Linked DNA regions of Homo sapiens: all the other regions are linked to region 4. Evidence: promoter capture Hi-C in 16 types of primary human blood cells and fetal thymus (Javierre and others, 2016). All regions are on one chromosome and are shown on one strand. The core of a region is centred on a gene start or on the middle of the fragment in contact, and the rest is flanking DNA. Distances in the headings are between cores, read along the strand shown.

Evidence for each region. Contacts are between HindIII fragments. The CHiCAGO score rates a contact against its expected background, and 5 or more counts as called.
Region 1: a contact is called between a fragment that was not itself captured here and the fragment with the promoter of NAXD in region 4, in 2 of 17 cell types (naive B cells and endothelial precursors). The highest score is 6.5, in naive B cells.
Region 2: a fragment that was not itself captured here is called in contact with the fragment with the promoter of NAXD in region 4 in 6 of 17 cell types (naive B cells, total CD8 T cells, endothelial precursors and 3 more); the score reaches 5.8 in naive B cells.
Region 3: a contact is called between a fragment that was not itself captured here and the fragment with the promoter of NAXD in region 4, in 4 of 17 cell types (endothelial precursors, total CD8 T cells, naive B cells and 1 more). The highest score is 6.6, in endothelial precursors.

Annotation. Positions count from the first base shown.
Region 1 is chr13:110,856,118-110,861,243 of GRCh38, forward strand. No RefSeq gene overlaps it. Among named protein-coding and RNA genes, the nearest start is that of PRECSIT, 12 kb to the right of the region's middle. The HindIII fragment of the contact is 1,935 bases long and covers 1,686-3,620 here.
Region 2 is chr13:110,804,601-110,809,734 of GRCh38, forward strand. LINC00567 (long intergenic non-protein coding RNA 567) reads right to left here. Exons shown (of 1, transcript NR_135280.1): 1 at 5,076-5,134. Among named protein-coding and RNA genes, the nearest start is that of LINC00567, 5.9 kb to the right of the region's middle. The HindIII fragment of the contact is 3,142 bases long and covers 659-3,800 here.
Region 3 is chr13:110,830,942-110,836,572 of GRCh38, forward strand. LOC105370363 (a long non-coding RNA gene) reads left to right here. Exons shown (of 2, transcript XR_007063874.1): 2 at 1-3,534. Among named protein-coding and RNA genes, the nearest start is that of LINC00567, 21 kb to the left of the region's middle. The HindIII fragment of the contact is 819 bases long and covers 2,856-3,674 here.
Region 4 is chr13:110,611,658-110,617,335 of GRCh38, forward strand. It overlaps NAXD (NAD(P)HX dehydratase), which reads left to right and starts at 3,888. Exons shown (of 10, transcript NM_001242882.2): 1 at 3,888-3,990. The coding sequence starts at 3,945. It overlaps NAXD-AS1 (NAXD antisense RNA 1), which reads right to left and starts at 4,696. Exons shown (of 1, transcript NR_182301.1): 1 at 1,425-4,696. RefSeq lists enhancers at 2,969-3,896, 4,798-4,847, 4,868-4,917 and silencers at 4,098-4,347, 4,358-4,517. The HindIII fragment of the contact is 4,814 bases long and covers 2,224-5,678 here.

The DNA of each region.
Region 1 (5,126 bases), core at 1,403-3,902, 240 kb after region 4:
ACTGGGCCTCCCTGGCTCTCCCTGCCCTCTTTGTTCCAAGAGTCGTTGCACTTGGCTGTGGAATGGATGGTGAAGTGTGAATTTTGGGAGGCTTCACAGGGAATAGATTGCCCGTTGTGATGAATGCACTTTAGAAATGACAACAAGAATAAAGTTGACTTTGAGCCTACCGATCTCGTGCAGCAGTGCTCAAGGAAAGATGATGGACAGAATGCCTGCACAGCCCGCCTTCTGGAGTAGGACGGTGCCTGTCTACACTCTGCAGCACTACTTCCTGGTGAGGGCTGCCAATAACTAGGTCCTGGTCAGAAGTTGCGCTGACAGAAGAATAATGGACTAAAGTGGACCACACGCAATTTGAAGGGGATGATTTTAAAGTACTGTGGTGGGTCCATCAAGCTCATCTTCATAATACAAGATATGTTTATGTTGACATTGGCTTTTGGGTGACAGGGACCTTGACTGGAGACAAGAGAGGCAGTAAAATAGACTCCAAAACAGCCATTCAACGTTCAGCGTTTAGAGCACCGTACAGTGTGGTGCCATTCTGCCCTCTTGGGTCAGACCAAACCTGCATTAGTCTGCTGGATAACAAATTACCCTAAAACTCAGCAGATGCAAACCACAAGCGCACACTTGCTCTCCTGATTCCTGTGACTTGGGAATTTGGTAGCAGCTTGCCTAAGTTGTTCTGGCTTGGGGGTCTTGTGAGATTGCAGTCAAGATGAGAGCCAGGAGCAGTCATTTGAGGGCTTGATGGGGGCTGGAGGATATTCCATGGCTGATGGGTTGGTATTGGCTTCTGGTGGGAAGCTTCCATTGCTTTCCATGTAGACCTCTCCCAGGGCTGCTTGAGTGCCCTTACAACATGGTGGCTGGGTTCTCCAGAGTATGCAAGGCAAGAAAGAGAGAAAACTAGGTGGAAGCTTTATTTTTTAAAAAAATTTTGAATAACCTAGCCTTCCTAGTGGAAGCCACACAGTTTCTCTTCTGTCACTATCTATTCATTAGACATGAGTCATGAAGTCCAACCACCATCCAAGAGGAGGAGAATTAAACTCCACCTTTTAAAGCCACCATGATATGGTTTGGCTGTGTCCCCACCCAAATCTCATCTTGAATTCCCACATGTTGTGGGAGGGACCTGATGGGAAGTAATTGAATCATGGGGGCAGGTCTTTCCTGTGCTGTTCTCATGATAGTGAATGAGTCTCATGAGATATGATGGCTTTATAAGGCGGAGTTTCCTTGCACAAGTTCTGGCTCTTTGCCTGCTGCCATCCATGTAAGATGTGACTTGCTCCTCCTTGCCTTCCACCGTGATTGTAAGGCTTCCCCAGCCATATGGAACGGTAAGTCCAATTAAAACTCTTCCTTTTGTAAATTGCCCAGTCTTAGGTAGGTTGTTATCAGCAGTGTGAAAACCTGCTTTTTTCTGTCACCACATGCTTTTCTCTGGTCAGACCACACTCAGGAAATGGTGTTTTCTGTGAGGAGGTCAGACACATGGGGTGCTTGTGCAGGGGGAAGAGATCAGATGGTGAAGAAATGGAGCCTGTGAAACCTAAGAAACCATTGAAAAGGCAGATGACATTTAGCCTATGTTGGGGGAACACTACAGCATATCCTAACCTTTCCTGTACTTGTCTTTATGAAAATGGAACTGCATAAATTATTTTGTGTTAAGCTTCTTTTGCTTAACCTTATGCTTATAAGACTATATTTATTACTGGGTATAGTTGGACTTCTTCCATTTTTCTTAAAAGATAACTCCATTATAGTTCCGTATTCCATTGTATGCACATGCTACAATTTCTCTATTCATTTTACTTTTGACGGACATTGGGGCTGTTTCCAGTTTTAGGGTGTTGGGACTAATGGAACTATGAACGTTCTTGGACATGTCTGCTGTTGCAGATCTGCATATTTCTCTGTTAAATAAATGTTTAGGAGGAGAATTGCTAGGTCACAGGGAAGTGTATGTTAAATGTCAGGAAATAATGTTCAACTGTTTCCCAAAATGGCTTTACAATTTACACTCTGACCAAGGGTGTATTAGAGTTCCCATTGCTATATCCTTATCAGCATTTGATAATGTCAGTGTTTTTAATTTTAGCTGCTCTGGTGGGTGTAAAGTGATACCTTGGTGTGGTTTAATCTGCATTTCTCTCACTACTTAATGATGAAATGGATCATCCATCAATATGATTATTGGCCAACTGGATACTTCTATTTATTTGTTCATTTTTTGTGAAGTGCCTGTTCAAGCCTCTTACATATTTTATTATGGATTGTTTGTCTTTTTCTAATTGACATATGAGATTGTAATATAAACTCCTGATGCAATCTTCTTGTCAGTTACATATGTTTCTTCCATTTCCTGGCTTGCCCTTCTATTCTCTTAATATTGCATTTTGATGATCAAAAGCTCTTATTTTTTAAAAATTCAAGTTAAAAAATTTTACAAAAATTTCAAACACCATTTATAAGTATTTCAGTACATATCATGGAAAGATAAGGACTCCTAAAATACAGATCAATATTAACAATAATTTATTAATATCATTAAGTATCTAGGGTTCAAATTTCCCCACTTGTCTCACAAATGCTTTGATTTTAGTTTGTTTGAAGTGAGGTCCAGAAAAGCTCCCTGCATTGCCGTTGGCTGACACATCTCCTAAGGCTCTTTTAATATCAGTTCACCCCTATATTTTACTCATTTTCCTCAGCAATTTATTTGCTGAAGGAACTAGGTCACTTGTTCCATAAGTTACTCTAGGTTGGATCTGTGCTGTCCAAGAGCAAGTGTTTTCATCAACCCAGGACCAACCTCAAGCCCTGGACTCACACCCAGGCAGTCAGGGGACTGTCTGGTTGAGGCAGCAGAGACTCCAGGTGGGGCCTCTGTATCCCCTGCCCGCATGCTGCTTGTGCTGAGCCCAGAGCATCCCCTTCTTCTCACTACATGCTTTAAATGGGAGTAATAAAGTGAAGGGTTCATTTGTCTTCATTTGCTCTGAGGCTGTGTGTTTTGTGGCCTCTGGGATCACCTATCTGAGAGTGACCTTGAGAGCATGCTTGCATGGAGATCATTCCCCACACAACTGCCTGTAAAAATCCATTGATATTTATTTCCATTGCAATTTCAGCTACCTGAGCATCATTCAGGGAGAACTAACTTCTTTATGACATCATCTTTTCAATTCAGTATCTCCTCCATTTATTTAGTATTTATTTCTCACAATAATGCTGTTTCTGCACAGAACTATTGCATACCTTATGTTAAATATATTTGATAGTCGATGTTTTTAAAACTGGCGTTCCTGATTAAACTGAGGTTTCTGTTTGTTACTGGTGTATAGAAATACAACTAAAAAAAAAAAAAGTTGACCCTATAGCTGGGCGTTGTGGTGTGCATCTGTAGTCCCAGCTACTCCAGAGGCTGAGGTAGGAGAATTGCTTGAGCCCCGGAGGTCAAGGCTGCAGTGAGCTCTGGTCACACCATTGCACTCCAGCCTGGGTGACAGAGTGAGGCCCTATCGCAAAAAAAAAATGTTGACCCTGCACCCATAAATGATTTAAACTCACTTATTAATTCTAATTATATTTGAAGTCTTTTAAGCTTTCTACATACAAAATCATATCATCCACTAATAGAATTTTTTTTCCTACCCAATCATTTTTATTTCCTCACCTTATTGCACCAGGAAAAACCTCCAGTAAAAGGTGAACATATGTGGGTAGGTGAGCATTCTTGTTTGTTCCTAATCTCAGAACACTATCAACATTTTGCTATATTCAGTGTGATGCCTGCTGTAAGGTTTTTGTTGTTTCCCTTAATTTGGATAAGAAAGTTCCATTTTCTTATATTACAAATGTGTATTTATTGAACACTTTTCTGCACAGATTAAGATAATCAGATGATTTTTCTTTTTTCTTTCTTGTTAACGTGATGAATTATACTGGTTAATTTCCAAACGTTAACCCATCTTGTATTCCTGGAATAAACCTGACGTGCTCACGGTTTCCATCTAGGCTCGTGAGTGGTTAGTGATGTGGTTTGGATATTCGTCCTGCCAAATCTCATGTTGAGATGTAATCCCAGTATTAGGGGTGGGGCTCGGTGGGAGGCGATGGGATCACAGGGTGGATTTCTCATGAGTAGTTTAGCATCATCCTCTTGGTGCATCCTTAAGATAGTGAATCAGTTCGCCCGAGATCTGGTTGTTTAAAAGTGTGTGGCACCTTCCGTCTCCCTCTCTTTCTCGCTCCTGCTCTCAGTGGGTGACGTGCCTGCTCCCGCTTCACCTTCCGCCATGAGCGAAAGCTCCCTGAGGCCTCCCAGAAGCCGAGCAGACGCTGGAGCCAAGCTTCCTTACAGCCCGCAGAACCAGGAGCCAGTGAAACCTCTTTTCTCTACAAATTACCCAGTCTTAGGTATTTCTTTATAGTGATGCAAAACCGGCCTAACACAGTTGGCTTGCAGTTTTCCTCTCCTGAAATGTCAGGTTTTGGCATCAGTGCTGTTTTCGTGTCATAAAATAAATATGCAGTGCTCCTTCTTTACTTATTCTCTGTAAGAATTTGTGTTTGCCATTTCATTGTTAGACGTTTATAAGAATTTACTGGCGAATTCATTTGGGATTAAAGAGTTCTTTGTGGGAAGATTTTAAATTGTACCTTCAGACAATAAATTTAGAATTAGGACTATACAGATTTCTTTCTGGTGTATATTTTGAAAATTTGCACTTCTTAAAGGAATTTGTCTATTTTATCTAAAATTTCAAGTTTATTGATTAAAAAGTTGCTTATAATATCCTCTTATCATTTTAATGAGGAAGATTCTATATGACCTTTTACAGTCTTGAAATTTTTAATCTTCCCTCTTTTCTTTGATCAGTCTCACCAATGGATGTTTAATTTTTTTAGTTATTTCAAAGAACCAAGTAATGGTTTTAATTGATCTTCTCTATTATACATTTATTTCCTATTTCATTAATTTCTTCTTTTATTTTTATAGTTTCTTTGGGTTTAAAATGCTGCTGTTTTTCTAACTTCTTAAAATGCATACTCAGCTTATTTTGGCTTTTTTCCCCTATAATATATGTTTCTAAATTCATACTTCT
Region 2 (5,134 bases), core at 980-3,479, 190 kb after region 4:
TCAATTATTCATTACTATCTGGATCTGTGCTTCTTTGAGAAGTACTTTAGATCAGTTTGACAGCCATTAAAATCAAGTACTGAAATTAACCGAACTGAGAGTCAGACCTTCAGATGCTGTATCAGAAAATGTTAAAGTAAGATTCTCAAAAATAGTGAGGTGTGTTCAATCGCACTGCTCTCCACTAAAAATATCATGAAGAACAGTAATATTTTAGTGAGCATAAAAGGTTTTAATATGACAAATAATATAAAATTATTTTAGAGTACTATTAGTTTAATCTTTAAATCATACTTTAGACATTTTATTGTTTTATAATATACATAATATGCCAGCATGGTGGTACGTATAGTTTATAGATACCTATGTATGCATTGGGTGGGTTTGCTCAAACATTTCACAGATAGGGGTGTAAGATTAAAAAAATGTTATAAATGACTGCACTGAAGGTGGTAAACCAAATACTATCTGACTGTACTGCAGAGTGAATTTTTACATGCGTTATCTCATTTAATTCTCACAACAATGAGATGCAGGTATTATTTTTCAGGCAATAGTTGTGCCTAGTTTTTAGTTCAGAAAACCCGAAATCTAGAGAAGTTAAAAAATGTATTTGTGTTTTCAAAGCAGTGAGGGATTCGCCGGGACTGGAAACCAAAGCTTTTGGCTCTTTTCATGTCATGGTTGTGACTAAGAATGGAGACTGTCCTCAGGGCTTCACGGTGTGTTCTAAAATGGACTTTCCACTTGACATGCAGCCTGAAATCGTAAAATCAGCAGTGACCCTTAAAGGAATACTTGCCAATGTGCCTTCACATGCTGGGTGTCCAACAGATAGAAGTTGGACCTGTAAATTTACATCGACAAATAAACAGCACACAATCCTCCTCTGAGCCATTCCCTAGAGTAGCAAGGCCGTTCTTCCTAGCATGTGAAGTAGTTTATTCCTCATGCAGGAGAGCATTATGAATCCTAATTACTGCTTCACATTTGTAAAGCACCTTCATATGGCTGGCTCATCTCATCACAGGTACTCTTAGATGGAACGGCGCTTACCCTCATTTTACGGAAAAGGAGACCCAGGCACAGAGAAGCTGACTGCTGCTGAGCTGGGCCAAGCCTAGAGCTCGCTGCTCCGATCTCAAGTCTGCCCACTGGATGGTGTATCTCCTGACCCAAGGTGCGGCAGACACCCAGTTACTTCTGCACAGCCACTTCAGAGAATCTCCTTCTGGGTGTAGTAGATTTGCCTCTGGGAGCCATTTCTTAGAATGCAGTTACGCTTTGGAAGAGATGGTGGCTATTATCTATTTATGCTGAAGTATTATTTAACCTATTAGGTTGCTTTCTAAACCATCAAATGAATAGAATTTTGTGCCAAAGAAAATGAGACAGGAGCCATGCCTATGATCTTGTGGGCAGAGAGGGAAAGTGGGTCAGGGCTCAGGGGCCTTGCAGGCATTTGGAGGGTGCAGCAGGGTTTAAAGTTCAAAAGTCACTCTTGGTATTTATACTAACCTAATGAAGGAGGAGAAGAGGTGATTCTTAGCCCCCATTTCACAGATAAATTAACTGAGGCTCAGAAGGGAAACTAATGTAACTTTCTTAAGGTCACACAACTCTTAAGAGGTCCCTACAAAACATTGAGTCTACTTTTTTTTTCCTTTTTATCTTTTGGAAACAGGGTCTTGCTCTGTCACCCAGGCTGGAGTGCAGCGGTGTGATCAACAGGTCATTGGAGCCTTGACCTCCTGGGCTCAGGGCATCTTCCTGCTTCAGCCTCCTGGGTACCTGGGATCACAGGTGCCTGTCAACACACCCAGCTAATTTTTGTATTTTTTTTTTGTAGAGACAGGGTCTCAGTATGTTGCCCAGGTTGGTCTCAAACTCCTAGTCTCAAGTGATCCCCCAGCCTCAGCCTCCCAAAGTGCTGGGATTATAGGCATGAGCTACTGGGTCCAGCCATCAGTCTACTTTTTCATTTCTGTTGCTAATACTTCACTTGGGTGGCTCTTACTAGGGGTAGTTCTGCCTCCTTGGAGCTGTTTGGTGTCTATGGAGACACTTTGGCCATCTTGATGATTGGCAGTGCTGCTGGTATCTAGGTAGGGTATCTGGTGGGCAGGGCTAGGAGTGATGGAGGTTTTAGAAAGTGCCAGGCATCCCCACACAGGAAGAATTGCTTTGCACCAGCCCTGCTTCCTAAAGGCCAGCTGGACATTCATGCGGAATGGCTTGACCTAGTGCTTGTGAGTTTTTGAGCCTAGAATGTAAAGCTGCACCCAGGTTCAGCGACAGACAAAACAGCAGGGCGCTCAGAGCCCCCCTGTCCAAGGTGCACAACCGGGGTTCAGACCTTCCCTATGAAGTGGTGCCAGGGTCCAAAATTCCCCTGGGAAGTGGCTGGAGGTCCCTTTCCAAACTCTCAGTGGTGCCTTGGGACTGCCTCTGCTTTGGAAGTATTTGTTCTTTATCTCTCTGCTCATATGCAAAAGAACTTATTAAAAAGCTGTAATGGAGTCTTGGGAAGTTTTTGTGATTGGATGCACCTGAGCTCATATCTTGGTTCTCCTACTTTCTTGGGCAAGTCACTAAACTACTCTAGATCTTGGTTTCTTTATTTGTAAAATAGAGTAAAATGCCCTTTTCATTTGGCCATCCAGAAAGTTAAATGAGATCACATGTGTGTTTAAAGCACATAGGCCTATTCCCATTTGATTCTTTCATTTCTTCTTCTCCCTTCTTTCTGATGAAGGAGGACTTTAGTTTGCTTCTGTAACTTAACCCATACTTAAACAGGAAGAGTATATTTAGCATTGAGAATATATTTTTTTCTGCAGCTGTCCTAGATTAAAATAAACAAAAATAAATAAATGAATGCCTACCATTCTGAGCAGCTCAGGGTGTATGTTTGAGACTGCTTTGAAACTCTAATACAAGCACAGGCATACCTGTCCTGGTGCTTTTGCACACAAGCCTCACACTGTCCAAGAGGACAGAGTGTGTGTGGCTCCCAAATGCATGTGGAGCCCCCTCCAGATCTGGGGAGGCTGCCCCATATGGTGCTGGACAGTGGCTGCACCAGGACCTGGAGGGGAACCTGAGACCTAGGCCCAGGCAGGTGGGGGCTGTGAACATGTGGCTGGGAGAGGCCATTGTCCATACACAGACAGCCCAAGTTGTTCAACTCCATTTGCCAACCCATGCCCTGCCCCTGGCTTGACTGGTCCCCCTCCTCTTCTGCTACTAAAGTATCTCCTGAAGCTGAGAACAAGCCAATGAGGATGATGGTGCCAGGGAGAGAGGATCCTGTGTTGGTCAAGGATGTGCGAGTAGCTGTTACCTCCATTGGCAGTTTTGTCACTAAAAGACCTCATTCACTTGAGCATTTGAGGATGACCAAATAGAATCACTAACTTTGGTTATTTCCAGTTTGGTCTGCATTAGACCATGACCAAGGAAAGCTGTGCCAATGACAAACCATATGCTTAAGTTTTCACCACATAAAAAGTTACTTTTAGGCAGAAGTCATGATACACTTTCCAAGAAATGGTTGTGGAATATTGTCCAAGCTGCGGGGGATTCGTTAAGTGGACATTGGAGAGCAGTGGTGCCTGGTGGCTTGGCACAGGTTCAGATGGAGAGACAAAAAAAAAAAAATTGCCATAAAATAAGCGAAGCATTGGTAGAGCCCAGAAAAAGTACCTGATTTTCCAGTTGGAAGTAACCCAAAAACGTGGTCAAGAATTTATATTGATTTTTCAAGACCTTTCTAGGGAAAGAACTTGAGGATCCTGGTAAGCTTTTCCAAAATGACTCAGAGTATCCATTTCTGTTTCTTCTCAAACCTTGCTATATATAATCACTGCAGGTCTGAAGAAACTCCACAAAACCTAAGCAGCCTCAATAAGAAGAAATCTAAACACACCATGGTCAAACTGCAAAAACCAAATCTTATGATACAGTGGGCAGTGGGCTATGTGTGCCAGAGAGGGCTTGATCTCAGGGGGTCCCTGGGGGTCTCCTGGTTTGTGTGGTATGTTGTTCTCAGAATATGACTGCCAGTAAAGTGCTGTATTTTCCAAGATGTAATCATTCCTTGTTTATTCGTTCCTGCCACCCTACACAGAAGGCATCAGAGTCCTAGAACGGCAGCTTGTTTTAATTAGAATTTCATGCAATTGAGAGAATTTAATAAGGTGGGTAGGATCTCATGTATTATATGTGTAATTAATAGGCAAAAATTAACAACCATTTATGCCAACTACAAACAGAAGATCTGATGGAATAAAGGACAACTTTTATAATAACAACAACTACTCGGAATACTGCAGGATATTACTACTACTTCAAAGTACTTCAAGATAAAGAAGAGGATAAAACAAGTGGAAAACCATAGTATGTTCACGGGTAGGAATCTACCTCATCATACAGAAATCACTTCTCTGTAGTTTATTTATAAGTTAAGCTTGATCCCATTTAAAATACGAGAAGTGTTGAGGATTTTTTAAAATGAGAAAAACCAATTATAAACTTTATAAGACACATACATATGAGATTTACATGAACTGTCTCTGGAAAGATGCAGGAGAAATGGAGTCCATTGGCTGCTCCCTGGGAAGGAAATAGGATGACTGGGGGAATGACTGGGAGATTTATTTCATTGGCTCTCATTTTGATTTATTTTTATTTTGAACTATGTGAGTATATAATTTTTGAAAATAGAAAATTATTTAAAATAGTAGTATAGATATTAAGCAATCAAGAAAACCCAGGAAAATACTGAAAAATAAAACAATAAAGTTTCCCATGTATTAAAACATATTATAATGTGGCATTAGTTCATGAATAGAGGGATGGAACTACCTAGGAAGTCCAGAAAATAGATGCCATATTATTACGTAATAAAGTGGCATTTGAAATCAGTGGGAGAAGTGTATTATCATCTGAAAGAGAAAGCTGGATTCCAACCACTCACATTTACAAAGTAAATTTCGTATGGATGGAAAATTTACACATGAAAAAAATGAAACCTTAAAAGTAACAGAAAAAACTGGGAGAATTATTAAATAATCTCTGATTCAGAAAGGACCTTTTTAATTCTGACACAAAATCTTTAAGCCAGAAAAGAAAA
Region 3 (5,631 bases), core at 2,015-4,514, 220 kb after region 4:
TTGTTCTCCGCCCCCAGCAACACTCCCATCCCGTGAGCCTCAGGCTTTGCTGCCGGTCTCTGCTGTCCCAAATGCGCGGCTCACTCCTGTCCTGTGTGGGCTGTCACCTGGCGGGGGAGTGGGTGGATACAGAGGTGGTTAGGCTTCAGAACGGTTTCCCTCTCCTCTGTGACTGGCAGCTCTGTCATTCATCAAACCCTGAGATGCCAGACAGTTTCCTATCTCTCAAACAAAGGTTAAGCAAATCAAGTTTTCACAGAGTAAAGCTGATCCATTGACAGGACAAATTGCTTAAGGAGAATTCATCTCACTGTCGGCAAAATCCATCAATCTAGGGTTAGTCATTGAGTATCTCCTGCCAGAGCAAGGGACCAAAAAATGAAGGGATGAGGGCGAGCAGGAAATACTCAGGCCCTGCCCGCAGTCAAGGACAGGTCCTGAGCAGGGGCTGTAATGGAACAAGAGTGTTTCCTGTTCCTCTCCCTAACCCAGGCCCTCACTCCACGTACCTAATGCCGGGTCGAGCACTGAATAAAGCACCAAGAGATACTGTGCATGGCACACCCCTGTGGGCAGCCTCCCTGCTCTCCTCGGTCAAGCAGGGCCCCCTTGTGTATCCCCATCTACCCCACTGCAGCCCCACACAGGTTCTCCCCAGCCTGTGGCCCAGCCCCTGCCCCTGCCATGCAGTTGCCCCCCACAGCCCCCCATGGAGGCCTCTGCCCAGCTCTCAGCCCTGGGGTGAGCTCACCTCCCAAGCCTAGCCAGAGGGAGCGCAGCCCTCCTCACACCCTTATCTCACCTCCCCACCTCTAGACTGTGCAGGAGCTTTCTGCTGTGTGAACCCCCAGGCCATGGTGCCTGGTCCCTGCAGACACAGCGAGGGAACCACCCAGAGGTGCATGTGGAGTGGGTGGATGGCAGCCAGGAGGCTCTTCTCACCCAGGGGATGAGGGCAGAGGAAAACCAAGAGGGAAACCAGGCCACAAGGGGCTCACCATGCCTCTGCCCCTCCTGTCCATGGCGATGACCACGGTGGACACCAGCAGGCCCCAGGCGAGGCGGCGGGAGGCAGCAGGCAGGATGGGCCATCCAGGGAGGGAGCTGGGAGGCCGAGTGGGCAGTGATGGGCTTCAGTCTCCCTGAGGGGCTGTCCTCCCACTGAGGAGTCCTCAGCCTCATTAAATAACCAGGGTTTGTCTCTGTGGCGTGGGTGGCAGGGACAAAAATCAGTGCCCAGGAATCACGGCTTCCTCCCTCCCTCACTGCCCAAGCGGGAGATCAGGCTCCTTCCCCACCTCACAGCAGCCAGAGGTGGGGGCCTGGGAGCTGGGAGAGGAGAGATTCATATCACCCAAGGGGCTCTGTGGGAGGAGGTAAAGGTGCCTTGGGGGGAGGAAGGGTGACGAGGATCAAGGATGATGCTGGGCTTGGGGAGGAGCATGGGGAAGAAGAGTGTCCTCCCAGGGCTGTGGGAAGGCAGGGGAGAAAGAGCACATGAGAGGCGGCACCACCCTGGTGTTCCCTGGAGAGACCCTCACAGAGGCGCTGGTCTGTTGGTTGCTATGAAGAGGGTCCCCTTTGATTGACATGCGGAGGATGCTGCATGAACTTGGAGCCGAGGCAGTGGGGTTTTCACAGCTTGGAAAAGCCCAGACTTGGTATTTGTTATGGGTTGAGTTGTGTCCCGTGAAAACCAGGGTTCTGGAGCCCGAAACCCTGGTACCTGTGAATGAGAGCTTATTTGGAAATTGGGTCTTGCAAACATGATGAAGTCATGGGGATCATGAGGGTGGGCCCTAGTCCAGCATGATGTCCTTATGGGGAGGCGAGAACCCTGTGTGAAGACTCCCACGGGACAAGGCCTGAGATGGAGGCAGAGATAGACACGGCACATCTAAAGCCAAGGAACCCTGAGCCTCACGGCAGCCCCGGGAGCTGGGGAGGGGCTGTGGAGGACTCTCCAAGTCTCAGGGAGGCGGCCCTGCTGACATCCTGACTTCAGACTTTCCAGCCTCCAGAACCGGGGGATGATAATCCCTGTTGTTTTAAGGCCCCCCAGTTCGTTGTTACAGCAGCCCCAGGAAGCTAATTCAGCACTCTAAGTTGCATTGCAAGCAGAGTCCTTCAGGAGAATGCGAGGAACTGCGTGGTCCAGCTTGGGCTGAGGGCAGTGAGCAGAACCTTGCCAGGAAAGGAGACCATGGCTCACCAGGCCAGGCAGCCCTCTCTCCTCTCTGGCCCCAACGGGCACAGCAAACTGAGGCTCCAGACAGGAGGCTGAGCACAGGCTGTCTCTGCCCTGTGCCCACACCTGCTTGTAAGCTGAGGGCATTTTATTGGCACAGACTTCAAAAGCATTAAAAAACATCCCACATGGTAATGTTATGTACAAGCAAGGTAATTCTACATGTCTGGAGAATGGATGTAGCATAAATTGGGTCTTTTGGCCAAAATGAGAAATAACAGATGCAAAGATATTGCTATTTAACAAATGCACAGTTTTGCTCCACTTTTGGTTAAGAGTCTTGTTTGCTTTTGATGAAGAGTCAAGGACTGAAATAATGTAAAAAAGTTAAGAATATTTATTTAAACAGGAATTTTCATCTAAGGTCCAAGCACAAATAGCCCCGGCAACACCACGTTCCAGCACCGAGCACAGTACGATAACTGTGCTCAAGGTTACCTTCCATTTCAAGTTGTAAGCATTTTTCCAGAAATATCTATGACTGGAGTTAGAACCATGACGGCTCAGTCATGTTGTTAGTCTCATGATGAAGAACATGAAATAGTTTGGAGAAAAAGACAGATACATTTAATGGTTCCAAATTACAGATCCTCCACGGTGGATCAAAAGCTTACTGGGACATTTTTCTTTAAGGGCAAGGGAATTCAAGATACTGGTGGCGCCATTTCAACAAATCATTGCCGTAAATGTGGTTTGCGGGAGGCCACCAGGCTGGTGGACATGGGTTGTTCCACCAGGCTAGAACACAATTGCTTTTGTGTGTTGTGTGTATGTGTGTGTCTTATGTATGTTTCTGTGCCGCGGTGTGTGTGTGTGTGTGTGTGTGTGTGCACAATCTCAATGCAGGTAGGTTATCCAGGCACACGGGACACCTGGTAGAGCACCTTTAGGAAGATGAGCCAAGAATTATTTCCATAAACCATGTCAGAATCGTCACTGAACACTTGCCCTTCCTCCTTATGAAAATGTTTAATTTACTCATTGTTAGACAAAAAGGCAGACGCTTAAGATTTTTCATCATTGTAAAAGAAGTGTTATCTATGGCAAATGAGTCAGTAAACACATCCTAATAGCAATATGCTGCAAAATGTGTCAATTTGAGGCCAAACATGTTCCTTTATTAGAATTGATGTTCTCCATCCTGAAGCTCCTATTACAGCCTCATTTGGGTGGAAGGAGGAATTTCAGGGAGCAATGCAGTTCAGCAGAAATTGTTGACACGTTATCTCCCTTCACCAAAGGTCAACATTTGATGGAAAGTTACACATAATAAAATAATTCCCAAATTTGGTTTCCAGAGCAGGGTTCTTCACCTGGCTGCCCCTTGGTCTCACCGGGGGAATCACGACAACGTTCTGATATTCAAGCTGCACCCTACACCACCTCTGTCAGAATCACGGGCTGTGGAGACCAGTGTATTTTTTTAAGCTTCCAGATGTTTCCAATGTGCAGCCAAACCTGAGACCCAGGGCTCTACTTTGCTATGTGAACTGTGGTTCTTGGATGAGTGTTATCAGTGCCACCTGGGAGCTTGTTAGCACCGCAGACTGTCAGGGGCGCTCCAAACCTGCTGAATTCCAGCCTGCATTTTAACAGGATTCCTCGGGACTGCTGTGCACGTTAAAGGTTGAGAAGCTTAGGCATGGAGGCATTGCTCTGCCCCTGTGTGGCACTTGGGAGGCCAAATGTGTGGAATCAATTCCCTATGGCCAGGACAGTCTCAAATAGAGGGGAAGAAAGCCTCTGTATCGTGGGCCCTGGTCGCTGACAACTCTCTTGCTAATTTGTGGGTCCTTAGGCTGAGCACCCACCAACTTCTGGGGAAACATGTTTTCTTGGGCCTCACAGGCATGGAGAGCTTTAGGGGAACCCTACACACATATGTATTATTTCTTAAAACTGGTCTACCTGAGAACACCTCTCTTCTGCCACACTTCCTCTCCTTTCACTTTTGAGCCCCTGCCACCATTCATAAGGCAGCCACCACTCACACCCATCCCACTTCTCCCTATGGTGCTTTGCTTTGGAGTTTGAAATACCTGCTATATTTGCAAAAAGCAACACAGGGAGGATAACCCAAAATGAATGAAATGATTTTCGTGTAAAGGTGGATGGGAATGGGGTGAAAGGGATGGGGAATATATCTTGTTTGTAGTTTTGAATTTTGGAATTGCGGTTAATGATTCATATGCTTATGAAAATAAAATGAAATAATTAAAGATAGGGAGAAATACTCTAAATTGAATACAGCCAGAAACAAATAAAACTTACTGTATTTCAGGTGAATAACATAACCACAGTGATGGAAAACAACTAATCTAAGCAACTTCTGAACACAGTAGTTTACTATATATCTTCAGTTTGATGGGAAAAAAAAAACTGTAAGCAAACCTTGAAATCTCAGCAGGTTTATGTTTTGCCGTACAGTGTAGTGATTCTGAAACTCTTGGCTATGTTGTAGAATTGAGAAAAATGAGCAACCATATTGATGGTATTAGAAGCCAGCATTCTCAGTGTTGAAGAGAGAGAACTACAGGATGGGAAAAGGCAAGGAAGGATCCATGGGTATCATTAAGAACTTTTGGAATAAGAGTCAGAAGTGGCATTTCCCAATGGAAGGGCCTAGAAACACTGGCAGCCCGGCAATGAGCACATTTTGCATGCAGATCTTGATTTCTAAACACCATTCTATAGTGAAAGGAACTGTGGCATTTTGGAGAAATGGCTGATTCTAGAGAAAAGACGGGCCAAGTACAAGATAAGCCTGGAATGTCTTGGTCTATAAAGTAGGAAATGCTCAAAAAATGAAAGGGATGTGTCAGAATGGCATAGAAGTCAGCTTGGAGACGTTTTCTACTGGCCAAAGCTGGGGCAATTAAGCACATAAAAATGAATGCTAACAGTAATAGAGTATAAACCATTAAACAAAATAAGAATTAATGATCCACCTTAAAAAGAGAGGAAAGAAGGAAGGAAGGGAGGGAGGGAGAGAAGAAGGAAGGTAAAGGAGGAGGGAAAGAGGGAACATTACTTAAAGTAGAATGCCAATTAATAAATTTGGAAGGACTGACGGAGTTAGAAAATCAACATTTTGCAAACACCACGTTAATATTTAACTTGAGCAAGAATCATCAATACATACTAAAACTATTCTGCAAAGAGTAATGAGAAGCAACATATTTACATGGTGTTAACTTAAAATCACACACTTTATAAATTTAGAAAGGAGAGCCGTATTTCTTAAGAAGGGAATTACAACCTGCAAGCAGGAAGTGCAGTCTCAGGCTAAAAGAATGAAAGCAAGCACTTCTAGGGAGGGAGGGGTGGGGTAGGCTGGCCGAGTATACATATTCAACAAGATATAGAGGGGGTTATGAATATTC
Region 4 (5,678 bases), core at 2,638-5,137:
CTATTGCTGTAGGAAAGCAGGGAGGTTAATTTATTAACAGAAGGTATTATGGGTTGAGTTGTGTCTCCTCAGAATATGTTAAATCCTAACCCCTAGTACCTGTGACTATAACCGTAACTGGAAGTGAGGTCTTTATAGATTATTGAATTAAGATGAGATGAGATCATTAGGGTGGGCCCTACTCCAATATGACTGGTGTCCTTAAAGGAGAGGAAAATCCCACGTGAGGACAAGGAGACCATCATGTGATGACAGAGGCAGAGGCTGGGGAGGGTGCCAAGGGCATTTTACAGTAAACCTGAAACACTCGTTCAGGCCGAGATGGAAAGGGGGGATGGATGCCTCATTATACCCTCCTCCCTTTGGAATTCAGGCACAGTTGACCAGCATTAACGTTAAAACAGAGACCTTAAGACTGACAAAGCAGAATTTTTGTAGCAATAAGATACCAATGTGACAGATTGCAAGCCCTGAAAGAAACTGGAGTATTTTACCCCAAATATATTCATTTGGCATATTTTGAAATAGCCTTGCAAAACTGTCTCTTTGGGGAAAAACATCTACATTCTGAGGAGACTCCCCTTCCTTTTCCAGGTCTTTTTCTTGATCCAGGAGATAATTTACTAAGAGTCCGGCACCTGAAGTTTGATAAGAAACATTTACAAAGTCCAGGTGAGGTGGGCCACACCTGTAATGCCAGCACTTTGGGAGTCTAAGGCAGAGGATCACTTGAGGTCAGGAGTTGGAGACCAGCCTGGCCAACACAGTGAAACCCTGTCTTTACTAAAAATACAAAAATTGGCCGGGTGTGGTGGTGCACGCCTGTAGTTCCAGCTACTTGGGAGGCTGAGTAGGGTGGATCGCTTGAACCTGGGGGGCAGAGGTTGCAGTGGGCCAAGATTGTGCCATTGGACTCCAGCCTGGGCAACAGAGTGAGACTCTGTCTCAAACAACAACAACAACAAAAAGAAACATCTACAATTCATTCTCTTTGAAGCCTGCTACCTGGAGGCCTCATCTGCACAACCCCTTATCTTAACCCAGACACTTCCTTCTACTGATTCCAAGTCTTTAAGTAAACTTTCTACCAATTGCCAATCAGAAAATCTTTGAATCCACCTATGACTGGAAGCTCCTCTCTTGGAGTTGTCCCACCTTTCTGGGCTGAACCAACGTACTTCTTACATGTACTGATTGATGTCTTCCGTATCCCTACCATGTATAAAACCAAGCTTAGCCCGACTACCCTGGGCACATGTTCTCAGGATCTGCAGGGGCTATGTTACAAGCCATGGTCACTCATCTTTGGATCAGAATAAATCTCGAATATTTTAGAGTTTGACTCTTTTCATTGACACTCATGCAGCAGACTATTGCCATCATCCAGGCCACACACTGTTAAATGGAAAAACCTTAGACACGTGTATGTTTTAACTGAGTGTATTTGAGCAAAACAAAACAGATTCCCGAATGGGGCAGCCCTCCAAACCAGAGCAGATAAGAGAACTCCAATCAGGAACCTGATCTGACAGCACCTATAGGAAACAGAAGTGTGTGATGGAGACAGCTAATTTGATTATAACTTCATTGCTTAACTGGTTACAGAGTTTCCTGCCATGAAGTAAAGCTCAGTTACTGTAGTTAAACTCCTTACTGGTTTGGTCTGGTAGGTGTAGTTCAGGGTTTCACTCTGTTATCAGAAAGGGGTTCCAATCCAGACCTCAAGAGGGTTCTTGGACCTTGTGCAAGAAAGAATTCTGGGCGAGTCCATAAATTGAAAGCAAACTTATTAAGAAAGGGAATAAAAGAATGGCTACTCCATAGGCAGAGCAGTGGCACTGGCTGCTTGACTGAATATACTTATGAGACTTGAAGCCAGCTGGACTTCCTGGGTCGAGTGGGGACTTGGAGAACTTTTCTGTCTTACAAGAGGATTGTAAAATGCACCAATCAGCACTCTGTAGCTAGGATTGTAAAATGCACCAATGAGCGCTCTGTAGCTAGCAAGAGGATTGTAAAATGCACCAATCAGTGCTCTGTAAAACGCACCAATCAGCAGGATCCTAAAAGTAGCCAATTGCAGGAAAGATTGAAAAAAGGGCATTCCGATAGGGCAGAAACAGAACATGGGAGGGGAGAAATAAGGGAATAAAAGCTGCCCCACCCCCCCACCCCCGCCAGCCAGCAGCAGCAATCCACTTGGGTCCCCTTCCATGCTGTGGAAGCTTTGTTCTTTTGCTCTTCATAATGAATCTTTTTTTTTTTTTTTTTGAGGTGGAGTCTCGCTCTGTGGCCCAGGCTGGAGTGCAGTGGCCCGATCTCGGCTCACTGGAAGCTCTGCCTCCCAGGTTCACGCCATTCTCCTGCCTCAGCCTCCTGGGTAGCTGGGATTACAGGCGCCCGCCACCATGTCCGGCTAATTTTTTGTATTTTTAGTAGAGACAGGGTTTCACCGTGTTAGCCAAGATGGTCTCGATCTCCTGACCTTGTGATCCACCCGCCTCGGCCTCCCAAAGTGCTGGGCTTACAGGCATGAGCCACCACGCCCGGCCTCTTCATAATAAATCTTGCTGCTGCTCACTCTTTGGGTCTATGCCACCTTTAAGAGCTGTAACACTGTGAAGGTCCGCAGCTTCATTCTTGAAGTCAGTGAGACCATGAACCCACCGGCAGGAACTAACTCCACACATAGTTATAGTTATCTCTTGATTATAGGCTAAATAAGGAGGGGATTATTCATGAGTTTTCTGGGAAAGAGGTTGGCAATTGCTGGAACTGAGGGTTCCTCCCCTTTTTAGACCATATAGAGTAATTTCCTGATGTTGCCATAGCATTTGTAAACTCTCATGGCGCTGGTAGGAGTGTCCTTTAGCATGCTAATACGTTATAATCAGCAAATAATGAGCAATGAGGACACAGAGGTCACTTTTGTGGCCATCTTGGTTTTGGTAGGCTTTGGGCCAGTTTCTTTACTGTGTCATCTTATCAGTGCGGTCTTTGTGACCTGTATCTTGTGCCCACCACCTCATCCTGTGGCCAAGAATGTCTAACCCCCTGGGAATGCAGCCCAGTAGGTCTCACCCTCATTTTACCCAGTCCCTATTCAAGATGGAATCGCTCTGGTTAAAAGGCCTCTGACATGTTGAGCCATCCTTTCACCTCAGCCTCTCAAGTAGCTGGACTACAGGTGTGCCACACCATCCCCTGCTAATTTTCCAAAAAAATTTTGGTAGAGAAGGGGGTCTCCTTATGTTGTCCAGGCTGGTCTCAAACTCCTGGGCTCAAACGATCCTTCCATCTTGGCCTCCCAAAGCATTGGGATCACACGCGCGAGCCACCGCACCTGGCCCCACAAGTTTCTTTTAGCACCATGACGGTGGCTTCAAATAGGGCGGCAGTGGAGGTAAGAGGCCATCAGCCACAGGAGGAGCGTGGGTGGGAGGGCAGGAGAGGTCAGAATGCCTTCCAGGGGTTTGGGCCTCAGCGTTGGAGTGATGGAGCTGCCCTGACCTGAGACGGTGGAAAGCGAAGGGGCCTCGCAGCGAGCTGGTTTGGGGTTCAGGGCAGAGGTTGCGCCTGGAGCAGAAAGGCACCTGACTGCTATACTGGGGGCACATAGTGGGCCTCGGCACTCCACCTGCCAGCAAAATCATTTTCTATAACGCCGCAAGCCTAAAAATGGGCCGATAAACACAAACCAGACCCTGAACCAGATCGTTGTTAACTCTTCAACCTGCCTTCCAGCCGAACCTCTTAGGCCAGAGCTGGGACCAGGCCGGGTTGGGCGTCGCGCTTGTCAATCATCTAGAACCGGGTGTGATTGAGCGAGTTGGGATCCCACTGCCGACAGCCGCGCGGAGGCGGTCGGGAAACCGGAAAACGCTTCCAATGGCTGTGTTTCCGGCGACGGCGCGGGGGCAGCTGGGAATCCGGAATGCTGCCCGATGGCCCTGGGTCCTCGCTGTGGGGCAATCCGGGCTTGCAGACGAGGTAAGGTCGATTCCATTTGGCCCGGGGATGGTCACACGCGCGGGGGCCGGAACTGCCGTCGCCGGCGCGGTCGTTGTCGCATTGCTCTCGGCCGCACTCGCGCTGTACGGGCCGCCACTGGACGCAGGTACCCGACCGCTGACCGCCTCTGCTGGCTCGCGGGGGGGAAGCGCCGCCGAGGGGCAGCCCGCGCGCGGGGCCGGGGCGCCGTGTGGCCTGCGGGGCGGAGTAGGGAGAGGACGGAGGCCTCCTGGAACGGCGCGGCGACGGCTGGGCGCGGCTTGGGTGATGGGAGCCTCCGTGCGGGGTGACAGAGGGGCAGAGGGTGGCGCCGGGCCGGAGCCAGTGCGCGTCCCAGGAGCGGCGGAGCCCGCGCGGTGGCCGGGGAACGGGGGGCCGAGGGCCGAGGACGGTAGGAGGGCCCTGGGGCGCCGTGGTGCGCTGGTCGGATCCGTCTGCTCTGCTCTGTCCCCGCTCCCGGTCTGGGAAAGATGCTCGCCAACTGCGGGCTTGCTGTTTGGTCGGAGCTGGATACGGGGGCCCTCCTGGGGCCCAGGGACGCGGCGGGCGTGCAGGCGAGCTGGCCGGCTGAGCGGGCTTCGCGCACACCAGGAGCAGGGCCGTGTCTGCATCCCCAATTTGAAGTCCCAGTGCGACTGGGCAAGTACAGACCCTGCACGTCCTTGGACGAGAGGGACTGGATATTGCGACGCCTGGGCCGCAGAAAAGGACTCCACCAGCCAGGCCTCCTTCGCCCGCCCCCGGTTCGGGGTGTGTGTGTGCGTGTAGGAGGTCCCTTGGGGAGGGAGGCTCACCTGAGTCATCCCCAGAACCTGAAGTGCTGGCCAGATGTCCCCGAGGGCCCTGCCCTGGCCTTGGCTGGTCCTTGCACGCTGAGATGCCTTTTCAAATAGAACGGATAAGGTAGAAAGAATTTAAACAGGAGCTGAGCAAGTGCTTGGAGCCCCATCTCTTCATAGGGTTTTTTTGTCTTTCTGTTTGCCTTGTTGGTATTGGTGTATCTAACATATTTTATACAGGAAGTAGTTCGTGTATATCTCATTTCTCATAAGGAGAGATTGCTGTTATCCACCTTGGTATAGAAGATAAATAGAAGCTCAGAGAAAGTGACTTAGCCAGGATTCTCCAGCCAGTGAGTGGCCGAAATGGTTAAACGCACCATTTGTTGCTGTAGTCATTAGATAGATTTTACCTTGTGTGTATGTTGGGCATCGTCAGAGAGTTTGGCTTTTTGTTTTCATCAGCACACACTGAGAATGCACTGGGTGGCGCTGAGAGGGTACTCTACACTGCACCTCACTCACACCAGCAGGGAGGCTTCTTAACACTTTATTTAGAGATTTATTTGTAGCTCTTTACCTTAAATTCACACACCGTGATTAGTAGCAAGATTTTTCATTGCGCTTGGTTGAGGATTTATTATCAGACTGCCTAAACTTTTACGAAAAGCCAGGTAGAGTTGTATATTACTGAGGCTTTAGGAAATATTTCAGTTAACTTAGGGATTGTGGTTAAATGCTCTAAATTAGTTATAACTCACATTAACTTAAAGTATTTTTGTTTTTTTAAGTAGAATTTTCCAGTACTAAAAGCACTTTTAGCACAAAGCAGCAGTGATAGTCTTCCCCAGACACGCTTCCTTAAAACAAAAGCCAAACAAATTTAAC